Linked DNA regions of Homo sapiens: region 1 is linked to region 2. The links are contacts of gene promoters, found by promoter capture Hi-C in blood cells and fetal thymus (Javierre and others, 2016). All regions are on one chromosome and are shown on one strand. The core of a region is centred on a gene start or on the middle of the fragment in contact, and the rest is flanking DNA. Distances in the headings are between cores, read along the strand shown.

What was found. Contacts are between HindIII fragments. The CHiCAGO score rates a contact against its expected background, and 5 or more counts as called.
Region 1: a fragment that was not itself captured here is called in contact with the fragment with the promoter of ZNF500 in region 2 in 6 of 17 cell types (erythroblasts, megakaryocytes, endothelial precursors and 3 more); the score reaches 11.0 in erythroblasts.

The regions. Positions count from the first base shown.
Region 1 is chr16:4,817,306-4,823,314 of GRCh38, reverse strand. It overlaps GLYR1 (glyoxylate reductase 1 homolog), which reads left to right. Exons shown (of 16, transcript NM_032569.4): 7 at 384-440; 8 at 1,718-1,768; 9 at 1,862-1,935; 10 at 5,618-5,717. Among named protein-coding and RNA genes, the nearest start is that of ROGDI, 18 kb to the right of the region's middle. The HindIII fragment of the contact is 2,515 bases long and covers 3,317-5,831 here.
Region 2 is chr16:4,765,912-4,772,682 of GRCh38, reverse strand. It overlaps ZNF500 (zinc finger protein 500), which reads left to right and starts at 5,521. Exons shown (of 6, transcript NM_021646.4): 1 at 5,521-5,666; 2 at 6,607-6,771. The coding sequence starts at 6,705. RefSeq lists an enhancer at 4,203-4,282 and a silencer at 5,475-5,774. The HindIII fragment of the contact is 2,671 bases long and covers 3,038-5,708 here.

The sequences.
Region 1 (6,009 bases), core at 3,325-5,824, 52 kb before region 2:
CACAAGTAGGCCAAAACCCTGAAATTCCAGAATAGATGTGACTTAGTTTGCTGGGTTATCTGCTGTGCCTGATGAGTACCGAATTTATAAAGCACAGGTATGCTTGTTAATATTTTCCCACAGGCTCATTGGAATAATTTGTGTACCAACCTAGCAGAATCATCTATTCTTTTACACTTTAAAGCCAGTTTTCCTCTAGCTGGAATGGGGCTTGTTTTTATAAAAAGGCTTAGGCCAAAATGGGAAAAGAGTTTCCAGACAATTGTGAAAAAGAGACCAGAATCCAGAGGTGTTGCAGCCAGAGGAGAGTCCAGTTACCAGGGAGAAGGAAGTGACCTTTGGTGGCAGATAACTGGTTTTATTTCACTGTTTTCTGGTTTCAGCCTGTTAAAGATGCAGATCCTCATTTCCATCATTTCCTGCTAAGCCAAACAGAGAAGGTGAGTTGCCTTTGAGGCTCTTGGCCCTTGGTCAGGGGCTGGCCAAGGAGTGCTCCTCCACTGGGTCCTGGCCTGGCCATCTGAAAAGTTAGGCTCTGCCGGTGTATTGCCCAGAGCAACTAGCCCAGAAGCCCCCATATGGGCCCGCTAATGAGCCAAGCATTGTTAAGATTAAAAGTAAATCCAGGCCGGGCGCGGTGGCTCACACCTGTCATCCCAGTACTTTGGGAGGCTGAGGCAGGTGGATCATGAGGTTAGGGATTCAAGACCAGTCTGACCAACATGGTGAAACCTCATCTCTACTAAAAATAGAAAAATTAGCTGGGCATGGTGGCGCGTGCCTGTAATCCCAGCTACTCAGGAGGCTGAGGCAGGAGAATTGCTTGAACCCGGGAGGCAGAGGTTGCAGTGAGCCAAGATTGCGTCGCTGCACTCCAGACTGGGCAACAGCGTAAGACTCTGTCTCAAAAAAGATAAATAAACCCAAAGGCCGGGCATGGTGGCTCATGCCTATAATCCCAGCACTTTGGGAGGCCAAGGCGGGTGGATCACCTGAGGTCAGGAGTTCAAGACCAGCCTGGCCAACATGGTGAAACCCCATCTCTACTGAAAATACAAAAATTAGCTGGGCATGGTGGTGCATTCCTGTAATCCCAGCTACTTGGGAGTCTGAGGCAGTAGAATCGCTTGAACCCAGGAGGTAAAGGTTGCAGCAAGCCGAGATGGTGCCACTGCACTCCAGCCTGGGCGACAGAGCGAGACTCTATCTCAGAAGAGCATTTAAAACTCAGCCAGCTGTGTAGTTGAGACTGTCACAGTGACCTTTAGAGTTTAGGGCAGAAACCAAACATCGTAAGCTGTCAGCACCCCATGAAATTGCATGGCAGACACATCTTCAAGCTCACTCCAAGAGGTAGTCTCCAAGTCCTGCGGATGCAGAGGGAGGTCCTCCCAAGGTCTGCAAGGTTATGGGGTGGCCTGAGCCGTGCTAGGATCTCATGAGAGTTTGTGGCTTTGGAGTTGGATAGATGTGGGTTCCAAGCTTATGACTCTTATTCTCAACACCATGGTCAGCAAAAAGACCTGGTAGAATTGCATGGGGACTTGAATGAGGTAATGTGTATGAACTTTCTAGTGTAAAATTTGGAGTTCACTAAAGTATAAAACAAATAGTTGATGTTAACTTCCCACTTTGGGTCTAACCTTTGAGGGGATTATTATGAAGACTGGTTAAGCCTGCAGTAGCACAAGTAGTCTCTTTCCTCCTCCTTCATTAGCCAGCTGTCTGTTACCAGGCAATCACGAAGAAGTTGAAAATATGTGAAGAGGTATGTAGGCTCCATGCCTCCCCATTTTAATTTTCACCTGGGGCCTTAAACTGCAGGCAGACTGACTTGATGATGTGTGCTTCCTGTCCGTAGGAAACTGGCTCCACCTCCATCCAGGCAGCTGACAGCACAGCCGTGAATGGCAGCATCACACCCACAGACAAAAAGTAGGACCTTTGATGAAAAGGCCTCCAGTGGCTCTGGTTCTGCTGAGGGTGGGGAGAAGGTGACCCCAGGGGGGTTCTTTAAGGGTTGTGTCCCAGCCATTGCTGGCATTGAATGGAAAAGGTGGGGGGATGTTGTAACTCTTATCGATAAAGACAGGAGTCAAAAGCTGTGTAAATCTGTGGTCGGGTCTCCCTTGGGCATAAGCTGAGGGATTTTTTTGGCTCCAGAACTCAAGAGCAAGGAGCACTTGGCTCAGTGGTTCTCAGACTTTCCTGTGCCTGACAGTCACCTGGAAGGTGGCTTCTCAGTCAATATGTCCGGGTGGGGCCCAAGAATTTGTATTTTTAACCAGTTCCCAGGTATACTGCTGCTGCTGGTCAGAGCTACGCTGTGAGAACCACTGGCTGAGTAGAATCATGATGAGGCCCCAAAATTGGCCATGGTGGGGCAGGTGGGGGAAGGGAGATGAAAGTGCTTGGGGATCCTCACTGAGCACTTGCTGGCTGTCCTGCACCCTGCCCGGTGTGGGTGGGGCGATCCTGGACATGCTCCCAGACCCAACTTGCGCCCAGCCTTGCCTCTGTGCCTGCTCTGTAGGCATGTCTCCTCCGCAGAGTCTTGTTGGCAAAAAGATACCTTTTCTAGGAAAACACGTTCTCTGGAGCAAGTTAGCTAAAGTCAGTTTCCAGTTTGTACCTTTCACATGGTCTTCCCCAGACTAAAAACAGTGCATCTTTTACATGATATTTTTGTACTGTTTAAATCACTAATGCTACCAGTTATTTTTGGTGAACTTGTCTCTGTAGAGTGGAGGAGATAAGGGCATATTAGGTGCAAACAAAGGGGAGGAGGATTGTGTTAAAAAAATAAAAATAAAAAAATGATCAGGATAGGGTGAGGACAGAGTCCTGATGTTTTTACCCAACACATTTATTGGCCCATTAGTCAAACTTTTAATAAAAGAGTATGAAGCCAGCATCAAAACCAACCAGTTTTGTTGTTGCCCAACCCACCTTAATCCACATTTCCATTTTGTCTGAGACACAGTGTGAAGGACTCTCAGTTGCCATATTAAAAATCCAGAACCTTGACCTGGGCATGGTGGCTCATGGCTGTTATCCCAGCACTTTGGGAGGCCAAGGTGGGCGGATTACCTGAGGTCAGGAGTTCAAGACCAGCCTGGCCAACATGGTGAAACCCTGTCTCTACAAAAATTAGCCAGGCATGATGGTGGGTGCCTTTAATCCCAGCTACTTGGGAGGCTGAGGTGGGAGAATCGCTTGAACCCGGGAGGTGGAGGTTGCAGTGAGCCAAGATCGCACCACTGCACTCCAGCCTGGGCAACAGAACGAGACTGTGTCTCAAAAAAATCCAGAAGCTTTATCCCAGGTCTACTGGACTTCCTAGAACACCAAGAAAGGAAAGGGAATTCGCCTGTCATGATTTAGAATCATGGGGGAATATTGTACTACCCAAATAATGAGTGACAAAAAGGTACCTCCTTGTTTTTAAGCCACAACTTGAAGCAGTTAGCAAGGAGGTCTATTTTGGTGAGAAAGTTGGTGGGTTCCATTTTCAACATGTGATTCAAATTACTTAATACAGGCTGGGACAGGGAGAATGTGAGCAGCTGATATTCCAGCTGAGATTAGGGGTCCATTTGTAGAGATGGTTCCAGAAGACCAAAACTATGGAAAGAATGACAGGGTCAAAGTGGAGGAGCTGCCGGGGACATCCAGCAGTCAGAGAATTTCTGAATTGAAAACATGGCCAAGCGCAGTAGCTCATCCTTGTAATCCCCACACTTTGGGAGACCAAAGCAGAAGGATCCCTTGAGGCCAGGAGTTCATGACCAGCCTAGGAAATACAGCAAGACCCCGTCTCTACAAAAAAATTTTAAAACTTAGCCAGACATGGTGGCATGCACCTATAGTCCTAGCTGCTCAGGTGGACTGAGGTGGAAGGATCACTTGAGCCCAGGAGTTTGAGGCTGCGGTGAGCTATGATCACCCCCCTGCACTCCAGCCTGGGAGACAGCATAATGCTGTCACTAAAAAAAGAAAAAAGGCTGGGTGCAGTGGCTCACGCCCATAATCCTAACACTTTGGGAGGCTGAGGTGAGAGGATTGCCTGATACCAAAAGTTCGAGACCAGCCTAGCCAACATAGCAAGACCCCCCCATCTCTCTTTTTAAATAAATAAATAAATAAAAATTAAAAACTATAAAAACAAGAACATGATATGATCAGAAATGAGGAAAGGCATTCTTTTGCACCATTGTCACTTGCAAAGAGAGGTGAAGAAGTACAAGAATCAAGAAAAGACACTTTGGCAAGCTAAAAGTCATCCGTAAAAGCATGTTGAAATAGCAGCAGTGGCATCCAGCCCCCAGCTCTCAGGGTTGCAGGAAGGAGCAGGCGGAGTATGTGAATGTGTGTGGAGGAGACTGGCCAATGAGTGCTTCTGTCACAAGGATTGGGAAGGACCTGTGGAAGGAAGGGCTGGGGGAACAGTGAGAGGTTTGGGGGAAGGCAGGCATGGGGAGAAGGATTTGTGGACTGGGAAAGATTGGGTTCCAAGCTCAGGTGAAGGACTTAGCTTTGGAGAGGAGAGGCAAGGCCCATTCTGTTGATAACGGGAAGACGGGAAAGGTAGGGTGTGGGTAGAGAATTGAAGTTGGGAAAGAGAGGTGAAAATTGCCGTCCTGGTTCATGCAGTCAAGGAAGTTGCCTGGCTCTAAACACAGTGCTTCAGTGACTTGTGGTGGATTCTGTTGGGCTTTAAAGTAGTATCCAGAGCCGGGTGCAGTGGTTCACACCTGCAACCCCAGCACTTTGGGAGGCTGAGGTGGGCGGATCCCTTAAGCCCAGGAGTCCAAGACCAGCCTGGGTAACATGGCAAAAGCCCATCTCCACAAAAAATTAGGTGTGCTGACAGATGCCTGTAGTCTCAGCTACCCAGGAGGCTGAGGGGGAAGGATTACTTGAGCCCAGGAGGTCGAGGCTGCAGTGAGCCATGATTGCACCACTACACTGCAGCCTGGGCAACAGAACAAGACACTATCTCAAAAAATAAGTAAAGTGTGAGGCCGGGCATGGTGGCTCACGCCTGTAATCCGAGCACTTTGGGAGGCCGAGGTGGGCAGATCACGAGGTCAGGAGTTTGAGACCAGCCTGGCCAACATGGTGAAACCCTGTCTCTACTAAAAATACAAAAATTAGCTGGGCATGGTGGCGTGCGCCTGTAATCCCAGCTACTCAGAAAGCTGAGGCAGGAGAATCGCTTGAACCCAGGATGCAGAGGTTGCAGTGAGCTGAGCTCGCGCCATTGCACTCCAGCCTGGAACAGAGCAAGACTGTCTCAAAAAAAAAAAAAAGGGCAGCAAGGGGACTTTGCCCTGGGAGACTGGCCCTGAACCATACACATCATACTTTTTTCTGTGACAGTCAGGGGTTTCAAAATGCCTGTTTACATCCTGGGACAGCTTTAGACCATGGCATAAGAGAAGACCCATGTGCATGACGCCCCTGGCTCTGCAGGTAGATTGGCCACTGCTGTTTCTGGCAGTCTGAATTCCCCTACCCCAAGCTGTATAAGGGAGCGAGCCTTGTGCTGCATGGAATCATCATCACCGTGACCCTCCCTTTCCACCCTGAACTCATCAGTCTCTCTCTGTTTCAGGATAGGATTTTTGGGCCTTGGTCTCATGGGAAGTGGAATCGTCTCCAACTTGCTAAAAATGGGTCACACAGTGACTGTCTGGAACCGCACTGCAGAGAAAGTAAGCATTCAGGGGTGGTGCCTGTTGGATCGGTGGAGTCTGGGGTAACCCTAAGAGTGGACATCTCCCCCTGTTGTCTCAGCGTTCTGCGTGCAATAGAATAGAAGCCAAGCTTTTAGTCCAGGCAGGTAGAGATGTAGATGCCTAAACTTAGGATGTTATTATAAAACCTAAACATTTGCCTGGCGCGGTGGCTCACTCCTGTAATCCCAGCACTTTGGGAGGCTGAGGCGGGCGGATCATGAGGTCAGGAGATCGAGACCATCCTGGCTAACACGGTGAAACCCCGTCT
Region 2 (6,771 bases), core at 4,272-6,771:
GGTAGAAACAGGGTTTTACAATGTTGCCCAGGCTGGTCTCGACCTCCTGAGCTCAAGCCATCTGCCCGCCTCAGCCTCTGAAAGTGCTGGGATTACAGGCTTGAGCCACCGCACTGGGCCCCTCAGCTAATTTTTATCTAGTGTTGTAGAGATAGAATCTCACTATGATGCCGATGCTGGTCATGAACTCCTGGGCTCAAGAGATCCTCCTGCTGCAGCTTCCCAAAGTGCTGGGATTACAGGCACGAGCCACCTCACCCAGTCTAGATCATTCTTTGTGGTGGGGACTGTCCTGTACACTGTAGGATGTTTAGTAGCATCCCTGGCCTCCACCCACCAGACACCAGTAGCAACTCTCACTTTGTTGCTAATTAAAAATTATCCTGGGGCCAGGCACAGTGGCTCAAGTCTGTAATCCTGGCACTTTGGGAGGCCGAGGCAGGTGGATCACCTGAGGTCAGGAATTTGAGACTGGCCTGGCCAAAACGGTGAAACCCCGTCTCTACTAAAAATACAAAAATTAGCCAGACGTGGTGGCAGGCGCCTGTAATCCCAGCTACTCGGGAGGCTGAGGCAGGAGAATTGCTTGAACCCGGGAGGCAGAGGTGGCAGTGAGCCAAGATCGTGCCATTGCACTCCAGCCTGGGTGACAGAACAAGACTCTGTCTCAAAAAAAAAAAAAAAAAAAAATTATCCAGGACAAGTCACGTGTCCCCTGGGGGAAGCATAGCACCCCCACATTGTGCACCACTAACTGTTATGCGCATGTGTTAGGGGATCCCCCAAGGCTGTCCAGTGTTGTAAAGGAGGGGAAACAGCCTCCCTGGCCACCCAGAGCACTACATTCCATATGTTTTCACTTCTTGTGGCTGCTGTAACAAATTAGCACAAATGCAGAGGCTTAAAACAACACACGTGTATCCTCCTATAGCTCCAGAGGTCAGGAGTATGAGATCAATATCACTGGGCCAGAATCAAGGTGTCTACAGAGCCCTGCAGCCTCTGGAGGCTCTTTTTGAAGATTTAATTATTTTATTTTTGAGACAGGGTCTCTCTTTGTCACCCAGGCTGGAGTGCAGTGGCACAATCTCAGCTCATCACAACCTCCGCCTCCCAGGCTCAAGAAATCCTCCTGCCTCAGCCCCCCGAGTAGCTGGGATTAGAGGCGTGTACTACCCTGCCTGTCTAATTTTCGCATTTTTAGTAGAGATGGGGTTTCGCCCAGCCCCAGGCTGGTCTTGAACTCCTGGACTCAAGCAATCTGCCCTCCTCGGCCTCCTAAAGTGGTAGGATTACAAGTGTGAGCCACCATACCTGGCCTTCTAATTTTTCTTTTTTCTTTTTTCTTTTTTTTGAGACGGAGTCTCGCTTTGTCACCCAGGCTGGAGTGCAGTGGCGCGATCTTGGCTCGCTGCAACCTCCGTCTCCCGGGTTCACACCATTCTCCTGTCTCAGCCTCCCGAGTAGCTGGGACTACAGGCGCCTGCCACCACGCCCGGCTAATTTTTTGTATTTTTAGTAGAGACGGGGTTTCACCGTGTTAGCCACGATGGCCTCGATCTCCTGACCTCATGACCCACCTGCTTCAGCCTCCCAAAGTGCTGGGATTACAGGTGTGAGCCACCGTGCCCGGCTTTTTTTTTTTTTTTTTTTTTAAGACGGAATCTGGCTCTGTCGCCCAGGCTGGAGTGCAGTGGTGCAATCTTGGCTCACTGCAACCTCCGCCTCCCTGGTTCAAGCTGTTCTTCTACCTCAGCCTCCCTAGTAGCTGGGATTACAGGTGTGTGCCACTATGCCTGGCTAATTTTTTGTATTTTTAATAGAGACGGGGTTTTGCCATGTTGGCCAGGCTGGTCTTGAACTCCTGACCTCAAGTGATCTGCCTGCTTCGGCCTCCCAAAGTGCTGTGATTACAGGCGTGAGCCACCGCACCTGGCCTATTTAAGATTATTTATTAAAACATTTGGTAGGTTTTAATACTTCATGAATACAAATTCAAAATAATGGCTTTTGTTGTTGTTTTTAAAAAGCACATTAATGGCCAGGCGCGGTGGCTCACACCTGATAATTCCAGCACTTTGGGAGGCCAAGGAGGGTGGATCACCTGAGATCAGGAGTTCAAGACCAGCCTGGCCAACATGGTGAAGACCCGTCTCTACTGAAAATACGAAAATTAGCTGGGTGTGGTGGTGCATGCCTGTAATCCCAGGTACTTGGGAGGCTGAGGCAGGAGAATCGCTTGAACTCAGGAGGCGGAGGTCTCAGTGAGCCCAGATTGCGCCACTGCACTCCAGCCTGGGCAACAGTGAGAGTCTGTCTCAAAAAAAAATAAAATAAGTAAAAATAAATAAAAAAATATAAATAAATATAAAAATATAAATATATAAATTAAAAATAAATAAAAAGCACATTAAAACTTGCAGTTTTTGCCCCCTGAACCTTCCCCCCATCACATCCCTCTTCAACGTTTGCCCCATCACCATCCTGAATTTGGTGTTCATCCAAGTCCCAAACATTTCTTTGAACCGCATACATGTCTCTAAATCATATGTAGAATTGTTTTGCATTTTCAAAATTTATGAAAATTGTATCATATTGCCACTTGCCTTTTTTTGTTTGGCATAGCCTCCGTGAGATTTATCCATCATTCTCCTGTTGACTAACATTTAGACTGTTTTCGGTTTTGCCATTACAAACAACACTGCCCTGAACACAGAGGTAGTCTTTATTACTAACAGAATTAGGACATATTAAGCCTATATGTGTCTGACGTTCTGTTCTGTCTCTTTACCATAATGGTGCCTACTGCAGGTGATGTTACCATCCCCATTGTACAAAGGAGTTATCCTTGTCTCCCTCCTCCACCCCAAGCTAATCAACCACCAAGCACTGTTGAATGTGCTCCAGGAATCTTGGCCAGATCCTTGTCAGTGACTACCACCATCACTAGTTACCCCAACTCTGGACCACTCCAGGAGCTTCCAGCTAGTCTCACTGCTCCTCTCCAGTCTTTCTGAGATCTGTACTCCACAAAGCTTCTTATCTGATCACGATGCTATCCTACTTAAAACCCCAAACTCTATTGACTCCAAGGATAAAATCCTTAATCCTCACCAGAGTCTCCAAGTATGGTCAGGCCTTGCCCATCCCTCCAGCCACATCTCCCAATCTCTGGTCTCCATTCTGTTCCTCAAACGCACCGTGTTCTCTCCGGCCCCAGGACCTTTGCACTTTTCACTCCTGCTGTCTGGAATCCTCCCCACCGGTTCCCCAGGTTAACCCTAGGCTGCTCAACTGTCACTTCCACCCTGAAGGTATCAGGTTCCCTCTTTTACGCCGCTTGCTAACATTTGCCAAAGAAGTGATTAAACAATTCTTCGTGCAATTTTGTCCACTGTATGCCTCTCATGGTAATTTTGTCCACTGTATGCCTCTCATGGCAAGCTCCATGAAAGCAGGCACCTGCCACCACTCCATCACCCGAGCGCCTAGTTAAGGGGGCAGTTGGGAGGACTCAACGTGCAGCGTTTATGCATTTATTATGCCTGGATGAATGGTCTTGAATGAGTTACAACCTTGAGGGTTAATGTCCCCCATTAACAGATATGGAAACTGAGGTTCAGGGCGCGCAAGGGAACCGCCCGCAGTCTCGACGACAAGGACGCTGCCACCGGGAGACTGCAGCCCCTTCCTCCGAGCCCCTGGCAGTGCCGCCACTTGAGGAGACCCTCCAGGCCGCCAACCCACCCCCTCTAGAGCGCCCAGGAATCTGCCTCCGGGGAGGGCGCGGGGCGCTCTGGGAAATGTAGTCCTGCCAGCTTCCTGAATCCGGCGTCCCCAAATTTGTTTCCGGCGGGCTGAGTCCTAGCCGATGCTTTGGGAAAGACGCGCGAGATTCCGGGGGTAGATCCGGGATGCGAGGCGGGGCGCGCATGCGGGGCGGAGCTTGTGCGGGGCGGGGCGTACGTTGAGTGTACGCCTGCTGTGTATGCTGCGTTGCTGCTCACCCGAACTCGGTGCTGGGACTCTTTCCTGGGCACCCCAGGCAGAGGGAAACTCCGGATCATGTTCAACCAAAGAGGAAAAGCAGCGAGAATCCAGCATAGGAGACGGGCCTTAGGATGCCCAAGTTAGGATTAGGGGCAAACTACGTTAACCTGGTAGTTAGGAGCTGAAGTTCTGGAATCAAAGATTTGGGTTCCAATCCCATTTCTGTACTTCCTGTTTGACCTTCTCTGGGGGGTTCAATACTTAAAACTCTCAGAGCTTCAGGGTTTTGTTTTGTTTTGTTGAACCGGTAGGTCTAGTTATAGTACCTCTATTACTAAATGAGGAAGAAACGAAGTACAAATGTGTTTTGCTTGCTTGATGCTCAAGAATTGATGCGACCGGGAGCGGTGGCTTACTCCTGTAATCTCAGCACTTTGGGAGGCTGACGTGGGTGGATTGCTTGAGGCCGTTGGAGACCAGCCTGGGCAACATGGGGAAACCCCATCTCTACTAAAAATACAAAAATTAGCCGGACCTGGTGGTTCGTGCCTGTAATCCCAACTATTCGGGAGGTTAGGTAGGAGAATTGCTTAAAACCGGGCGGCGGAGGTTGCTGTGAGCCAAGGTCGAGCCACTGCACTCTAGCCTGGGCGACAGAGTGAGACCCTGTCTCTAAATAAATAAATACATACATACAAGAATTGATACCTGGCTGGGCACACCTGTAATCCTGACACTTTGGGAAGCTGAGGCGGGAAGATTGCTTGGGCCCAGGAGTTTGAGACCAGCCTAGGCACCATGGTGGGACTTCATCTCTAACAACAACAACAAAGATTGATGCCCATTATTATGTTGTCAGAAAGAAGCAGGCAGGACAAGGGATATTTGGGGTTGGACGTTGTTGGGGGCCCTCTTGGGGGAGGGTGGGCGCAAGCACTTGGCATCTCTTCCAGTTTTATCTTGAACAACTTCTGCCTTTATTTATTTTATTTATTTATTATTTATTTATTTATTTTTTGAGATGGAGTTTCGCTCTTGTTGCCCAGGCTGGAGGACAATGGCAGGATGTCGGCTCACTGCAACCTGCGCCTTAGCCTCCTGAGTAGCTAGGATTACAGGCATGAACCACCACGCCCAGGTTTCTCCACGTTAGTCAGGCTGGTCTCGAACTCCCGACCTCAGGTGATCCGCCCGCGTCGGCCTCCCAAAGTGCTAGGATTACAGGTGTGAGCCACCGTGCCCGGACGACTTTGCTGGCTTTAAAGATGGAGGAGGCGGCCAGAGGAGAGCGGAGCGGGTGTGGAACAGTGACTGGGAAAGTAGCCCAGAGGCTGCAGAGTCGCCGCACGCTCGCGCGGTCACCGAGGTGCTGGACTACGTTACCCACAATGCGTGCCTTTGAGGACCACATTAACCACAGTGCACGTCGCGGACCCGCCCACTCGGCCGTGTTGCCACGCCCCCAACGGCCGGCTTAGCCAATGGTGCCACGGCTACGTTACCCACAATGCCGCCTGCGGGCCCACCCGCACGGCCTGGTTTGCACCCCTGGTTTAGGGTCTTCGGCCCCGGCTCTGGCGTCCCTGGCTGCCAAGCCTGAGGCCCGCAGTCCTACTCCCGCCGAGACCCGCCGCTCCGGTCCTGCCCCGAACTGCCCACGGCCGGCAGCGCTTCCAGTGAGTGCGGGGGGCGCGGGGACGCGGGTCCCGGCCGAAGCTTCGATTTCGCGGCCCGCGCCAGCACCCGGGTCTGTGCCGCGGCCTCGGGTACCGCTCACCCTCCACCTGAGGGATGAGACGGGAAAGCAGCCCGGCCTGGGGGTCCCAGCTCTCCCAGGACCCTGGAATTGGGGGGCTGTCGTGACCACCCACGCGGGGGTGCCTGACGGGGCCGCGTAGGGGCTTCAGGGTTCGCCAGACCTGGACACCGGGGATCAAGTTGAGGCAGAGTCTGCAGAAAGGCCCTACTTTTCATCAGATTTCCAAAGGAACCCCTTCCATATAGGACCCACTCTAATCATGGAAAATAACGATTCTCGAGCTCTGACCGCAAACATCCCTTTTAGATTGTTTTTGTTTGAGTCTCTCTCTGTCGCCCAGGCTGGAGTGCAGTGGCGCTATCTCAGTTCACTGCAACCTCCATCTCCCGGGTTCAAGCGATTCTCCTGTCTCAGCCTCCCGAGTTGCTGGGATTACAGATGTGCTACCACCATGTCGGGCTAATTTTTGTATTTTTTGTAGAGACAGGGTTCCACCACGTTGACCAGGTGGTCAACTCCTGAACTCACGTGATCTGCCCTCCTCTGCCTCCCAAAGTGCGGGGATTACAGGCGTCAGCTACTGCCCCCAGCCATCCCTTTTAGTTCTGTCAGCAACCTGTGTGTGTAGGTCCTGTTATCATCTCTGTTTGCCCAGTGAGGAAGCAAAGCCCAGAGCCCTTCAGTAAATTACCCGGGAATTAACAGGGGGTTAATAACAAAGATGACATTCATCCACTTCCTTTTCCTTTTCCATGGTGGGGTGAGCTGGCCTTGGAACCAGGGCAGGGGCTTCCCAGGCCAAAGGGCTTATCCAGCCCCAGGGCTGCCCTTCAGATGGTTTTATCGTCTCTCCACAGGGCCCTGAAAAAAACTCTCTTCCTGTGTCTGGCCAGAGGTATAGAGAGAGACAGGTTCAACTCTAAGGCCTGAAAAGGAACAAGGCCCACCGGAAGCAATGGCCACTGTCCCTGGCCTCCAGCCCCTGCCAACCTTGGAGCAGGACCTGGAACAGGAAGAGATCC